Regions from separate parts of the Homo sapiens genome. Here region 1 is linked to region 2. Evidence: promoter capture Hi-C in human tissues and cell types (Jung and others, 2019). All regions are on one chromosome and are shown on one strand. The core of a region is centred on a gene start or on the middle of the fragment in contact, and the rest is flanking DNA. Distances in the headings are between cores, read along the strand shown.

Region 1 (7,410 bases), core at 3,175-5,674, 290 kb before region 2:
CAAAAAAAAAAAAAAAAAAAAAAAATTCCAACATCCACTCAAGGTTCATTCACTGCACTTGGTTAAATGCTTCTTAGTCACTTGTAATCTAGAACAGACACCCCCAGCCCCACTCCAGCCTTTCTTTGATTTTCAAGACTGACTCTTGAGAAGTCCAGGCCAGTTACCTTGCAGGACGTCTTACAGCCCAGATCTGTCAGAGGCTTTCCTCATGACTGGATTCAGGGCAAGTGTTTCTGGCAGGCGTTCCACCAGGACAGTACCCTGTTTCCTAAGTCATCACACTCAGAGGCTCAGAATGGCAGGAGCTCTCACCACGGGGGTGTTGAGTTTGGACATTTGGTGAAAGTTGAGGTCATCCTAATGTTTTGCTAAGAATCAGAGGGACCAGAGCTGCTTGCTTGAGACTTCCCAGTGCTTCCTGGAGAAGGGACTGTTGGAAATGGTCACAGACTGGGGGTTGGTTTTGTTCTGTATCATCTGTTCTCAGTGGTCTGTGACCAGCTGCCCTTCCCATTCTCCCAGATCCCAGGTGCAATTGCTCTTTTTCTTGCAGTCAAAGGCAGACTCCCTTTCTTGTGGAGGCCTCCATCCGGCACCGTGTGCCCTTGTGTGTCCATGAGTGTCACTGTCACACATTTACCACTGCACCTGTGCGCACTCTGCCTCTGGAGAGCCCTCCCCCAGACCCAGGGAGAAATATTTGTTTCTCTCTTTTTTTTTTGAGACGGAGTCTCGCTCTGTCGCCCAGGCTGGAGTGCAGTGGCGTGATCTCGGCTCACTGCAAGCTCCACCTCCCGGGTTCACGCCATTCTCCTGCCTCAGCCTCCCGAGTAGCTGGGACTACAGGCGCCCGCCACCGCGCCCGGCTAATTTTTTGTATTTTTAGTAGAGACGGGGTTTCACTGTGTTAGCCAGGATGGTCTCGATCTCCTGACCTCGTGATCACCCGCCTCGGCCTCCCAAAGTGCTGGGATTACAGGCGTGAGCCACTGCGCCCGGCCAAAATATTTGTTTCTAGCACAGAGTGCCCCGAGAGCTGCCCACTTTCTCCAGGAGACCTCTTTCCGTAAAGCTTTTTCAGCTTCTCTGATTACTTTGAGGAGAAAATTCTTAACTACGTGGTAACATACGTATGGCACTTGCTCAGAGCCCCTTTAGCGGAGAGGGTCCGGTCCCAGCTCTGGCAGCAGCTGCTCACGTAGTAGCAGTCAGGGGAGGTGGGGGTGGGGACGGTAAGGTGTCCGAGCAGCTCCAACAAGGAGAGGCCGTCACTCTGGCCGGGATAACAATTCAGATATCCAGCGTGCACCTGAATAGTAGAAATCCAGCATCCTTTTCTAAAAACAAAACAATAGCAAAATTCAGATCTGAGCTACTCTGTAGCATTTCTTTTTTTAGAGACAGAGTCTCGCTCTGCTGCCCAGGTTGGAGTGCAATAGCGAGATCTCTGCTCACTGCAGCCTCCACCTCCCAGGTTCGATTGTCCTGCCTCAGCCTCCCGAGTAGCTGGGATTACAGGCATCCGCCACCACGCCCAGCTAATTTTTGTATTTTTAGTAGAGACAGGGTTTCACCAGGTTGGCCAGGCTGGTCTCAAACTCCTGACCTCAGGTGATCCACCTGCCTCGGCCTCCCAAAGTGCTGGGATTACAGGAGTGAGCCACTGCGCCCGGCCATTTTTGTATTTTTTTTAGAGAGGCAGGGTTTTGCCACCTTGCTCAGGCTGGTCTCGAACTCCTGAGACCCAGTGACCCCCCACTCCTTGGCCTCCCAAAGTGCTGGGATTACAGGCGTAAGCCACCGCACCTGTTCGCAACAAACATAATTTCTAAAACAAAGGAGACTCTTTGCAGCGGCTGTACGTTCTTCTTCCTCACTGTCAGCATTCTCTTGTTGCAGAATACAACCTCCATTCATGTTGTTTTTATGAATGAATCTTTTTACCACTTTCTTACTATGACCAGGTCTGGAGGCAGAAAACCACGTTGTCTTCTCTGCCTAAAAAGCAACACCACATCTTCATAGACAAGGTTGGCTATGGAGTAGACTCACAGCATTCCATGATAACTAGTTAGAATGCAGCAGTGTTCCAAATGGGCCAAACCTTGTCCAGACAGGAGCAACAGGCAGCTCAGGGTCCCAGGAACACTCACCAGCTGGCAGCCCCTCGGGAAGCGGCTGGGCTTTCCACCTGTTCCTGCATGCTGGGCACACTCTGGCTTAGATGCCCTCTTACAGCTGCAGATGCTGTGGCGTGGTCCTCAGCCCTGAGGATGTGGGAGGAGAGGAAGCAGTCCTGTGCATGCAGGGGATGAGTCACGGGATTTTGCAGAGAGATATGGCAAGAGGATTGTTTATCTTGGACTCTTTGCAGTGCCATGGCTCTGAGGAAGCTCTCTGCAGCTACACACTCTACGAAGAGTGTTTCTCAACCTCAATGGTCACTATTTTGAAAGCCTTTTATTTCTTTACAGTCATTACATACTTTTAATTTAGCACTGGGTCTTGGCCATTCTCACATGATTGTATTAGTCAGGGTCCAACCAGGAAACGGAAACTGCCCAGATTATTTAAGACAGAGGATATTTAATGCAAGAAAGTGGCAACACATGGTGGAAAAGGCTGAGAAAGCAAATAAACAGTCAACACAGCGACGAGCAGCTTCAGGAAGCTTCTTATCCTCACCTAGGTAGGGTGAGGACAAGAGGAGAAGGTGGGCCAGGCACCATGACTCACGCCTGTAATCCCATCACTTTGGGAGGTCAAGGCGGGCAGATCACCTGAGGTCATGAGATTGAGACCAGCCTGGCCAACATGGTGGAACCTCATCTCTACTAAAAATACAAAAATTAGCCAGGCGTGGTGGCGTGCACCTGTAATCCCAGCTACTTGGGAGGCTGAGGCAGGAGAATTGTTGAACCCGGGAGGTGGAGTTTGCAGTGAGGCGAGATCACAACATTGTACTCCAACCTGGGCAACAAGAGCAAAACTCCGTCTCAAAAAACAAAACAAAACGAACAAAAACAAAGAGGAGGAGGTGGTGTCACCAGAGCCTAGGGGTCAGCGGAAGAAACTCTAGGATGTCTCTGTCCAAGGCAGAGAGGAAGGGAGAGAAGTATGCTGGATTCTTTCTGCCCTCTACTGTCTGACCTCCCAGGAGGAGTGTCTTCCATTGACTAAACCAGCAGAGTTTGTGACAGGTGACAGCAGTTTGAGGCCAGGTGACAGCAGAGTTTGAGATTCAGAACCTTCAGAAGTCAGAGCCCTGCCACACTGAGGAGGGCAGGGAAGGGGAAGGCGCAGCTCTGGGGACAAACCGCTGTCAGCCAGCATAGTCATCTGTGCTCAGGGCTAGCCTTGCTCTGCAATTTATGAATGCAGAGTTTTTAATTGAACCTTCCTGCATATGTTTTACATATCTAGTTGGTATAATTCATCCTTCCAGCCACATTACTCAGGCCTTTATTTTAGACTTTGTGTAGCTGTTGAACTACCTTGGAGATTACACAGGAATAACCAGCACTCAGTCAACTCACTGGTGTTTGGAACTCACAAGTAATAATTAATAATTGTGTTACTTGCTACCTTTACAGCCATGAAGCCCTTTCACATTCATGAGACTGGTTATTCTCATGCAACTCTGGAATAGTTATTATTACTCCCATTTTGTAGACGGATTCTCTGAGTCTTGGAGACTTTGTCTGAATTCCTAAAGGACAAATAACAAATAACAGAGGCAGAATTCAAACTCTGGTCTGCTTGGTTCCAAATTCCATGATCTTCCCATGATATCCTGCTGCTTCCTGCCAGGGCCACAACAAGAGTTTTTTTCTGGGCTGGTTGGCTGAGTTTAGGAGGAAGGAGAGGATATGTTTTAAACTTGCAAAATTCTTGATGACCCATAAATTAAAATGCCCCTCCTGAGTGTGACACAAGGCCTGGCTTGCCTTCCAGTCTGAAGGTTGCCTTTTCGCTGAGGGACCTGCACTCTTGCCCCTTACACGTCTAGATTCAGTTCTTCGATACGCAGGGCTGGCTCTTCCAGAGAGACTGGAGTCACAGCAGCAGGTACCACCCCACACCTGACAAGAGGTGGCCAGGGAGGAAGGGAGGGTTCTTACCTCCCCATCTCCCCTCAGTAAAATTCAGGATGCCCAGTGAAGTTTGAATGTCAGATAAACAATTTGTTAGTATAAGGATGTATCTAGCATTGAAATGATGCCTTGTAATTTACTAAATCTGCAACTATGCAGCCTTATTTCATGGCGGGCAGTGGTGGTGATCCCAGGTTTCAGGGGCGGGGAAGGGTGCTGGGGGGATCCTGAGGTCAGGAACCCGTACACCTCTGCTTCTGCCCTCTCTTCCCTGTGCCGGCCACAAGGCAATGACTCCTGTGTGGGTGCAGAGGCAGAAATGGGTCTGGAAGGGGATTCCCAGTGTCTGGCAAGTTCTGGTAAATTCTGCATTGGAGGTTCTCTCTGTAGTAAGGGGAGTTGGCCTGGCCTGAAGTGAAAGCTGGCTTACCCGGTTTCATTGAGCTCTTCAATTAGTCTGTTTGCACTGGTGAGCATTCAAATCTGATCAAGAAGGTAAAATGAGCTTTCAAGATCCCTAAATGCATTTGAAGAAAGGAAAGAGGAGGCCCCTGAGTGGCTGGAGCGAGCAGGTGGGGTGAGCTGGTGCCGCTGGCCCAGGAGAAGATGGGAGGGCAGACACTGGGCCTCCGGTAGGTGTCAAGGAATGGGCAGATGGAATGCTGGGGCCAGCTCTTGCCTCTGGGTCTGCAGAATGCAGAGCTGGGGGCATGCACTGGGCGTCAGGTCCCCAGCAGGGCAGCAGTGAGTGCAGCCTCGCTGCTGGGAGAAACTGCCCTGCTCACTCATCGGAGCTCGGGGAGCGAGGCGGGGCTGCTCTTAGCCCTGCCACTAAGTTCATCCACAACCTCGAGTAGTATCTCTGGGCCTTTGTTCACCTGGCAAATGTGATGAGTATATTGCATTTCCCTTATGGCTCCCCTTAGTTCTGAATCTCTGCTGGTGCGTGTATACCTTCAAGCCTTCTCATTATTGCTGTTCTCTGTGCACTGGCCAGGCAAGCGGGCTGGCAACCACGTTTCGTTAACCACCTTTATTCTACCCAAAGATTGCTTCTTCATTTTCCCTCCGTGTTTCCCCCGTCCAAGCAAAATATCAAACCTCTTTTTTCAAAGGGTCATAGTCAAATGAGTGAACCAAAGAGATCAACGCTTTTGTAACAGCCCCACATCAGCAGCTGAGGAGTAACTCTGGGACAGAGGCCCCCATCCGTGTTTCCGTCTCCGTCCACTCTCCAGTTGTTCATTCATTCACTCAGCAAGTACTTACTGAGCTCAGGGGATGCATCAGACCGATTGGAGCTGGAGGCAGGAAAACTTCAGCAGAATTACAAAATATGGGAAACTCCAGGTGACTGGAGGCCTGGTTACTCAAGCTTTTTGCTTCTCCCTTCTGTGCTGGACTCGCTGAAGTTTAGTGTTCAGCCACCCGTCCATCAAGTGGTAGAGGCAAAATGAAATTGAGTTCTTGTCAACAGTTTCAGTGAAAGGCCGGAAGTCTTGGCTAAATGGAGGTATCTGAGTATCCTGTGGGCTGCACCTCTATGGAGCTCCACAGAGCTCCAAGACCACATAGAATTGGAACTGGCTCCTTCTGCCGATAATACAAACAGCCCTCTGGGATGTCCTTCTCTGACTTACCTCTTCCCTGCTCTCTGTCCACAGGGCTGCCCTTGAGATGGAGTTGCTGCCTCTTTGGCTCTGCCTGGGTTTTCACTTCCTGACCGTGGGCTGGAGGAACAGAAGCGGAACAGCCACAGCAGCCTCCCAAGGAGTCTGCAAGTTGGTGAGTTTCCCTTGAACCCTGATCTGTCGGCTGCTCCTGTCCTGACAAGGCTTGGTCCATTTGGAAAGCTGACAGATTGTCCATCAGGAAGGGCAGAGAATGAAGGAGCCTGCATCACTCTGTGCCTGCCTAGCACAGGGGCATGTGCAGCTGCCCTTTAACCACAGGATTTTAAGATGCTTCCTGGGAAGAGCCAGGCAGTCCCTGCCCCGCCGTTCTCACGCCTGCTGAGGATAGGAGGCATCCGAGACCAGCCTAGGGCATCCTCCCGGAACAAGAACAACTTGTTAAAAATCTGGATGATTCAGGCCGGGTGCAGTGGCTCAGGCCTGTAATCCCAGCACTTTAGGAGGCCGAGGCAGGCAGATCACTTGAGCCCAGGAGTTGGAGACTAGCCTGGGCAACATGATGAAACCACATCTCTACAAAATACAAGAATCAGTCAGGTGCGGTGGCACACACCTATAGTCCCAGCTACTTGGGAGGCTGAGATGTGAGGGTGGCTTGAGCCCAGGAAGTGGAGGTTGCAGTGAGCTGAGATCATGCCCCTGCACTCCAACCTAGGTGATGGGGCCAGACCTTGTCTTTAAAAAAAAAAAAAAAAAAGCCAGGCGCGGTGGCTCACGCCTGTCATCCCAGTACTTAGGGAGGCCAAGTCCGGCGGATCACCTGAGGTCAGGAGTTCGAGACTAGCCTGGCCAACATGGTGAAACCCCGTCTCTACTAAAAATACAAAAATTAGCTGGGCGTGGTGGTGCATGCCTGTAATTCCAGCTACTTGGGAAGCTGAAGGAGGAGAATCGCTTGAACCCGGGAGACGGAGGTTGCAGTGAGCCGAGATCACACCCCTGCACTCCATCCTGGGCGACAGAGTGAGACTCTCTCAAAAAAAGAAAAAAACAAAACAAAACAAAAAACTGGATGACTGAGCTGCACCGATGGTATGAGAATCTCCGGGTGAGGTGCTTGAGAGCTGGAGAAGCCTGCCTCGGAGTTTGTGGACGAGTTGACCGCTAAGGCTTACACAGCTGCGGGGAGGACTTGCTGCCATGCCACTCTGCAGAGCGGCAGCCCGGACCACGCTCAGGCTAAGAAGACCCGGAGCGTGGATACCCAAGCCTCCTCTAGGGCTTTCAGCCTAGATGTGAAAATAGACTTGGGTCCAAACTGAGAAATTTCCAGTAATTTTCCCCTTCATCTATATAACAATGATATCAAAAGTCTGCTCAAGAAACACATATTTAGGCCAGGTGCATGGCTCACGCCTGTCATCCCAGCACTTTGGGAGGCCGAGGCGGGCAGATCACAAGGTCAAGAGGTCGAGACCAGCCTGGCCAACATAGTAAAAACCCGTCTCTACTAAAAATACAAAAATTACCCAGGCATGGTGGCACATGCTTGTAGTCCCAGCTACTCGGGAGGCTGAGGAAGATTGCTTGAACCTGGGAGGCAGAGGTTGCAGTGAGCTGACATCGTGCCACTGCACTCCAGCCTGGGTGACAGAGTGATACTCCATCTCAAAAAAGAA
Region 2 (7,010 bases), core at 4,329-6,828:
ATGTTCTTCAGCAAATTCAACAGGCCAAAGGAGTGTTTGTCACTGACAGAGCTCTCACCACTCACTGGTTCTGTGCCAGTTTTCCATAGCCTCCTCTCCCAGCATCGTAGTCCTGCCGATACTCATCCCGAACCTTTAATGGAAAGAATCCAGAGTTACAGTATGGAAAAGAATGGTGTAACAAATATGCCTCCCACAAACATGTTAGACAAACAGTGAAACCTGTTCAGATGCCACAATGTGAACATTTCAAGCAGGACATATGCACTTCAGCTCACTTCAGTGCGTTTTGCTTTCATTTTAGATGTTCCTGCAGGTGGAAGATACCTAGCCCTAGCAGAAGTTCAAGAATGGTTGCTTGTTAGAAACGTACAGAACATACCATTTCACGGTTTAAAAAAAAAATTCACCCAAACCGTTGGGTGGTTTTCAGATCCACTTCAAGCCAAGGTTATAGACACAAAGTTATTTACAAAAGAGTAAATACAAATTGCCAAAACACCTGTCATTGTGACTGGAATCCCAGGCAATGGCTGAGCCCAGAGACCCTTCTTGCATACCTGGCCCCCAGATCGCCCACGGCCGTATTGCCTGCCCTCCTTAAAGCCTGCGTCCCAGTCTGTGCGAATGATTCGGTCATCCAGACGCGTCCCATTTATGTACCGCATGGCGTTTTCCGCATCTGCGCGTGAGTAATATCTTAAGTATTAAGGAACACTAGCATTTTTCCAAACATTTCTGGAAATAGGGGAACAACATGTAAATGAAGCTGAGTTGTTAAAAAGTACAAGAGCTAATCCAACCAGATGGAGTTCAAAGACAGTAATTCAGCTTGCCCAGGCCTGTTTGCGATTGGTTTGGAAGCACATAGAGTCAAATATGACACGTATCCATGGCTACACTGATCATATTTCTTGGACATTCCTGTTGATAATTTTTGGTCCCATCATCTCTGTATTTTGGTTTGCAAGTTTAGATCACTGTACACTTCTTATCCAAGAAACCAGTGCTGTATATTCAAGTTAGGTTCTGTACATTCCAAGGCACCCTAATCAAGAGAAGGTCACCGTGCACGTGGAATTGTGCTGCACTTCACTAAAGGAAAGACTCAAGCTGTCACCAAGGTAGCAGTTCCCAAACCTACTTCATCAGAGACCTCCCTTTAATTAAAGGGGAAGACATTTAATCTCAGACAAATAAAAATAAGACAACAGTGTTCTGAATAAACCATCTGGAGAAACTAGTATCTTTGATGTTAGCAAGCCAAAATAAAATCTCTTTTCATTCTAGCATTTGGGAAACCTGTGTATCCCCGAGGCAAGCCTGCAATCTGGGAGAGAAGCCCTGCCTGGGTCCAGTGAGTCAGCATTCTTTTCCTTAATTATGAGCAGAAATCCAGGGATCACCAGACACTTAAGGAAAAATTTCAACCGAAACAAACATAATTCAGGGCACAGGAAAAAATTCAAAAGATATATTAAATTGGGCCTGCAAAATTTCTCAGAATATTAAATTGAATGACCAAAACATACAGTAAAAAGAACATAGGATAAATCCAAGAGGTCCAATACTTAAAAGAGTCTGAGTAAGGGAATTAAATGATCAAAGTAAATAGTTTTGGTTTGTACCTATACAGTCAGGTTATATACATCTATATAATGAAATACTATACAGCTATTTACTTAAAAGTTTTTTTCTTTAAAGATGGGGTCTTAACCCGTCACCCCCGCTGGAACACAGTCACAACTCAGTGCAGCCTTGAAATCTTGGGCTCAACTGATCCTCCTGCCTCAGCTTCCTGAGCAGCTGGCACTACAAACACCAGCCACCATGCCCAGCTGTACAGCTATTTTAAAAAAAGACCTACATATGCTGAAATGGAACAATAAAAAATAAAAAAATGATTTTAAAAACAGCACATGAAATACACTACCGCACACCCACAGGGTTACTTCTTGAAAGACGCCCAAGAAACTGGTAACTGACTGCCTCTGGCAAAGGGCATTAGGGGTTTAGAACAGTACGAGATTTTTATATTTTCACTACATTCTTTGGAATTTTTTTTTTTTTACGTGAAGGGCAAACATTCTTGAAAAACTTTTTGTTAAAGAACCATAAAGCATGGATTTCAGAAGAGAATATAAATAGTATCAGCTTTACAGTATAAGGGCAGAGACACACTGGGTGGAAAGTAGGAGGGAGATGAAGGAAAACGTAGGGACGAGTGCAGGGACGCTTATGAGCTACCACTCTCAGCTCTACCCTGGTTCAGCAGCTACATTAGATCCATGGGAAGGATACTCCACAAAACAGAATCCACATGCTGTTTTCTTCATTTTATCCAGACCCATAATGATTTTCTTTATGTCACCACTTTTGCTGAAGAGTTCATAGATTTGTTCTTCAGTTGTGTAAAAAGAAAGATTTCCAACATATAACGTACAGCTTTTCTTCAGTAATTTTTCTTGTTCTTCATTGTCACCCTAGAATTTCAAATAGAGACAAAAGTTAAGCAACTTCAGAGCCTTGCTTAAATAGTATTTCTAAGTACGGTAGAGACATTCATTAATTCTGGTTTGGAAATCAACTTCTCTCATCCCAGCCTACCAGAAATCCCTTGCCCAAAAAGGGGGATGTCGACCTTCTGTGAAGCACTTATGCGAAGTCCAGACTCTTAGTAGAGACAGGGCTCAAAAGTTATACCACATACAACAAAGTCACTTCTACGCCCGACTGCCACGCAAGCGGCTTCCCTTTTCCCTGCACACACCATATCCTCAGCAGTGCATCCTTTAAACCCAAGTGTAGACTCTGGACCTTGACCCAATATATGACAAAGGGCCCTTTTATCCTTCGTAGTGAAAAATAAGTGGGTTTTCAGAGAGAGAGAGAGTTCCTCTTTAATAACCCCCTAGAGACTGTTGAAAGCCACAACCTTGATGCTTTACGTGCTCATAGATCTTTCTCTGAGTTTAGGGGAAAATGTAGTGATCACTAAAAACAAAACAGAGCTCACTTTCTTAATGGGCTTCCAAATTGGGATGACAGGATGAAGCCAGAGACTTAAGCATATAACTGGGCTTCATCCAACACACCTGACAGACAAAGCCCTGGGTCCAAAATGGCTCATCGGGGTCAGGCGCGGTGGCTCATGCCTGTAATCCCAGCACTTTGGGAGGCTGAGGCGAGTGGATCGCCTGAGGTCAAGAGTTTGAGACCAGCCTGGCTAACATAGTGAATGAAACCCTGTCTCTACTAAAAATACAAAAATTAGCTGGGCATGGTAGCAGCGGGCGCCTGTAATCCCAGCTACTCGGGAGGCTGAAGCAGGAGAATCGCTTGAACCTGGGAGGTGGAGGTTGCAGGGAGCTGAGATTGCACCACTGCACTTGAGCCTGGACAACAAGAGTGAAACTCTATCTCAAAAAAAAAAAGTCCACAGGACAATAGTCATTGTATGTTAAAAAGAGGTTTTCGGAACTTTGGAGTGAGACATTAGAGAAAGTAAATTCCTTTCATTTTACTGCTGTTACTGATTTGTGAACATGGAAAGGAGGCATCTTCTTTTTCTACTTTTCTCACACATGTAAGTAAGATCCAAATAAATAGCCTACAGTTTAAGATAACTGTGGTGTAAGTGCTTAAAGTATATTAATATGGATTCCATTCACAGAATGCTAGAAATTCCACATGACAGTATGGCATTAGCATCTAAAAAAAGCTACAGGTTTAGACTGAGGAGATGAATAATAGACAAAGTCAGAAGGTTCCAGTTTTCATCTCACAGGATGCTTTAAGTTCAAAATGGTCAGGATGTGGAACTGTCTAAAGTAGTAACTAAAAGTGGTAGAAGTGCAAATCATGCCTGGCACTTAGGCATCCCAGCACTTTGGGAAGCCCCAGGCAGGTGGATCGCTTGAGTCCCAGAGTTCGAGACTGGCCTGAGCAACACAGGGAGACCCTGTCTCTACAAAAAATTAGCTGGATGTGGTGGCGCGAGCCTGTGGTCCCAGCTTCTCAGGAGGCTGAGGTGGGTAGGATCACTTAGGCTCAGGAGGTTGAGGCTGCGTGAGCCGTGATTGCGCCACTGCACTTCAGCCTAGGCAATAAAGCGAGACTCTGTCTCAAAAAATAAAATACATTAACTGAATAAATTTTTTTTTTTTGAGAAGGAATATCGCTCTGTTGCCCAGGCTGGAGTGCAGTGGCGCGATCTCACAGCAACCTCCACCTCCCCGGTTCAAGCGATTCTCCTGCCTCAGCCTCCCGAATAGCTGGGATTACAAGCGCCTGCCACCACGCCCGCCTAATTTTTGTATTTTTAGTAAGACGGGGTTTCACCATCTTGGCCAGGCTAGTCTTGAACTCCTAACCTCGTGATCCACCCGCCTCAGCCTCCCAAAGTGCTGGGATTACAGGCGTGAGCCACCGTTCCCAGCCTTGACTAAATAAATCTAAGAGCTTCCCTAATTTAGCGTCAAACAAAATTTCCCTTTCCCTACTCTAGTAACACATTTCACACATTCTCCACACTTACCCTCTGCTATATGCGCCCCTTCCTTTCCCAGTCACAAGGGGATTTTTCCCTTTTCTGAATCCTCACTACAGGGGATTATGAGCTCGCAGAGCGCAGAAACTGTCTTCCCTCTCCCTCTAGGGTTTAGCACAAGGATTTGGCGACAGCACTCGATAAACGTTTACTAAATAATTGGGTTAATGAGTCCCGCCCCGCCAACCCCCAACCGTATTCCATCCCTACCTCCGCTGATACTGAAAAGTCTACTTTGAATATCTGCTGCCTCCCCTTTTTCCACAAAATATACTGTGATATAGTCCGGACTAAAAATTTCCCTCTTCTGAAATCCAGCAATTCTCCGATCTTTACATCCGAACACCCTCAAAGTGCCGAGCTTGGCGGGTCCACCTCCCCACTCCGAAGCTTCCCCGAGGGCGGAGTGAGGACTCCACTTGTGTCTCCCACGCACCGCGTACAGCTTCCGTAACACCATCCTCCCAGAGAAGGGGCCCGAATCGCCGAAGGGCACTGCTTCGCCGATTTAAAAAACAAAGCAAAAAGCCCCGCATCTGCATCAGGAAGGCGCCTCTGCCTACTCTGGGAGAGAGAAGGGCACCCCTCCCCCTTGCTACGTAGTCGTCTGCGGAGGCACAACCGTGGAAACGGGAGCCGCCACCACCACCACCGCTCAAACCTCTCGGCACTGGCTGGGGTACAGGGAGCGGCTGCGAGCGAATGGGATAAGCGAGCCTCCAGTTCCCCGTCTTCCAGAGCAAGTGGCTTCAGTGATATCCAAGCGCCCTTCCAGCACCCATTCCCTGCCTCGCCAGCAGGCACCGGGGCCCCACTTGGCGTTTGCGGATTTCAGCTGAATGGGAGGCGACACAATGAGACAAGAGCAAACCGTTTCTCAGCGTTCTTGCCCAGGGCCTTCCCGTCTCGCGGCCCGGCCTCCCTCACCCGGAAGTGCTGGTCCCGGTACTGGCTCAGCTCCACGTAGGAGTCGCTGCGCAGCGCCTTCAGGAGGCCACCCGACATAGTGCAGAGAAGCGGACCACAATGCGGCGACTCCCGGCACGAGGCTGCGTCCGCGATGGCGGAAGCGGAAACGCGCGGAGGCGAGCATCTCATTGGACCCAATCCGAGGGCGGCGTGTCGTCATCAAGCTGCGCGGGGGCATAGACGTCCGGGTCGGGCGCCGCGGGGCGGAAGACGAGGGCGGCGAGGTCGGGTTCCGGGCGCTTGGAGAAGATGGTGCTGCGGCGGCTGCTGGCCGCCCTGCTGCACAGCCCGCAGCTGGTGGAACGTCTGTCAGAGTCGCGGCCTATCCGACGTGCGGCGCAGCTCACGGCCTTCGCACTGCTGCAGGCCCAGCTGCGGGGCCAGGACGCGGCCCGCCGCCTGCAGGACCTCGCGGCTGGGCCCGTGGGCTCCCTGTGCCGCCGCGCTGAGCGATTTAGAGACGCCTTCACCCAGGAGCTACGCCGCGGCCTCCGAGGCCGCTCGGGGCCACCACCAGGTAGCCAGAGGGGCCCTGGCGCAAACATTTAATCCTGGGCTGTGCGGGGCCGAGGCCGCTTGCTTTTCCTTCCGGGCTCTACAGTGGCATCAATGTGGAGGGGTCATTCCGGGCACTGCGCGCGGCTTCGAATCCCGACTGGGATTGTTGGCCTGCAGACATCCCACGCATAAGAGCCTAGGCCAGACCGCCCGCTCCGTTGAAGTCTTGTGATTGGACAAGACACAGTGTGGAGACAGCCCTAAGCCTAACAGAGATGAAGGTAGGCTGGGTCCAGACACGGCACCTACGGAGAGCCACGGACCGAAGCCAGAGAGCCTTTCCTCTGCAAGTGGGACTGAAACTCTTGACAGATGCTGCTCAATCTGACTGGTATAGCAGGACAGTTAATTCCAGGGACGATATGGATGAAAAGACAACCCTACAGCTGCCAAATTCCTTTGATTAAATGTGTGAGCTGGTTGATAGGCATGAGTGTGATACTTCTCAGGCAAGATGTGTTAAGAATACCGGGGACTGTAGGCCTATGGTAATAATAAACACGTATTTTATGAAATGAGTCTTCTGTGCTGGGACTTGCTCATTGCACTCTATGTGTTATCTCACTCCTTACAACGACATTCACATGAGGAAGCAGATTACTTTTTGGATTTTTTTGTAGAGATGGGGTGGTCTCGAACTCTTGGGCGCAAGTGATCCTCCCGCCTCAGCCTCCCAAAGTGCTGGGATTATAGGCAAGAGCCACTGCGATGGAAACAGAGGCTGCTGCTTAAGTTGCCCAAAGTCTTGCAGAGTGGGATGTGAGCAGAGGCATTTGACTCCAGGGCCTAAGTCCTTAACACAGCTCTGCAGCATTTACCCTGATACTCAACCCCTTCCTTCCCCAACCCCCCACCATCAGGCATTAAGACTACTGCCTAGGGGCAGGGCCTGGTGGCAGTTGTGTCTTATCCCAGCCACTGCAGAGGCAGGAGG

The links. The method cuts DNA at HindIII sites, captures the fragments that hold promoters and counts their contacts. A contact is called where the count stands out against the background at its distance.
Region 1: a fragment that was not itself captured here is called in contact with the fragment with the promoter of NCBP2 in region 2 in 1 of the 25 tissues and cell types used here (mesenchymal stem cells).

The regions. Positions count from the first base shown.
Region 1 is chr3:196,648,766-196,656,175 of GRCh38, forward strand. NRROS (negative regulator of reactive oxygen species) reads left to right here. Exons shown (of 3, transcript NM_198565.3): 2 at 5,762-5,882. The coding sequence starts at 5,775. Among named protein-coding and RNA genes, the nearest start is that of NRROS, 13 kb to the left of the region's middle. RefSeq lists an enhancer at 1,987-2,752. The HindIII fragment of the contact is 5,100 bases long and covers 1,875-6,974 here.
Region 2 is chr3:196,936,950-196,943,959 of GRCh38, forward strand. NCBP2 (nuclear cap binding protein subunit 2) reads right to left here and starts at 5,579. Exons shown (of 4, transcript NM_007362.5): 1 at 5,477-5,579; 2 at 2,302-2,483; 3 at 561-699; 4 at 1-133. The coding sequence starts at 5,554. The coding sequence ends at 62. NCBP2AS2 (NCBP2 antisense 2 (head to head)) reads left to right here and starts at 5,725. Exons shown (of 1, transcript NM_001355243.2): 1 at 5,725-6,594. The coding sequence starts at 5,768. The coding sequence ends at 6,067. NCBP2-AS1 (NCBP2 antisense RNA 1) reads left to right here and starts at 2,928. Exons shown (of 3, transcript NR_046630.1): 1 at 2,928-3,178; 2 at 4,025-4,193; 3 at 5,444-5,585. RefSeq lists enhancers at 4,911-5,584, 5,043-5,282, 5,313-5,452, 5,503-5,802, 5,585-6,258 and 2 more. The HindIII fragment of the contact is 10,051 bases long and covers 1-7,010 here.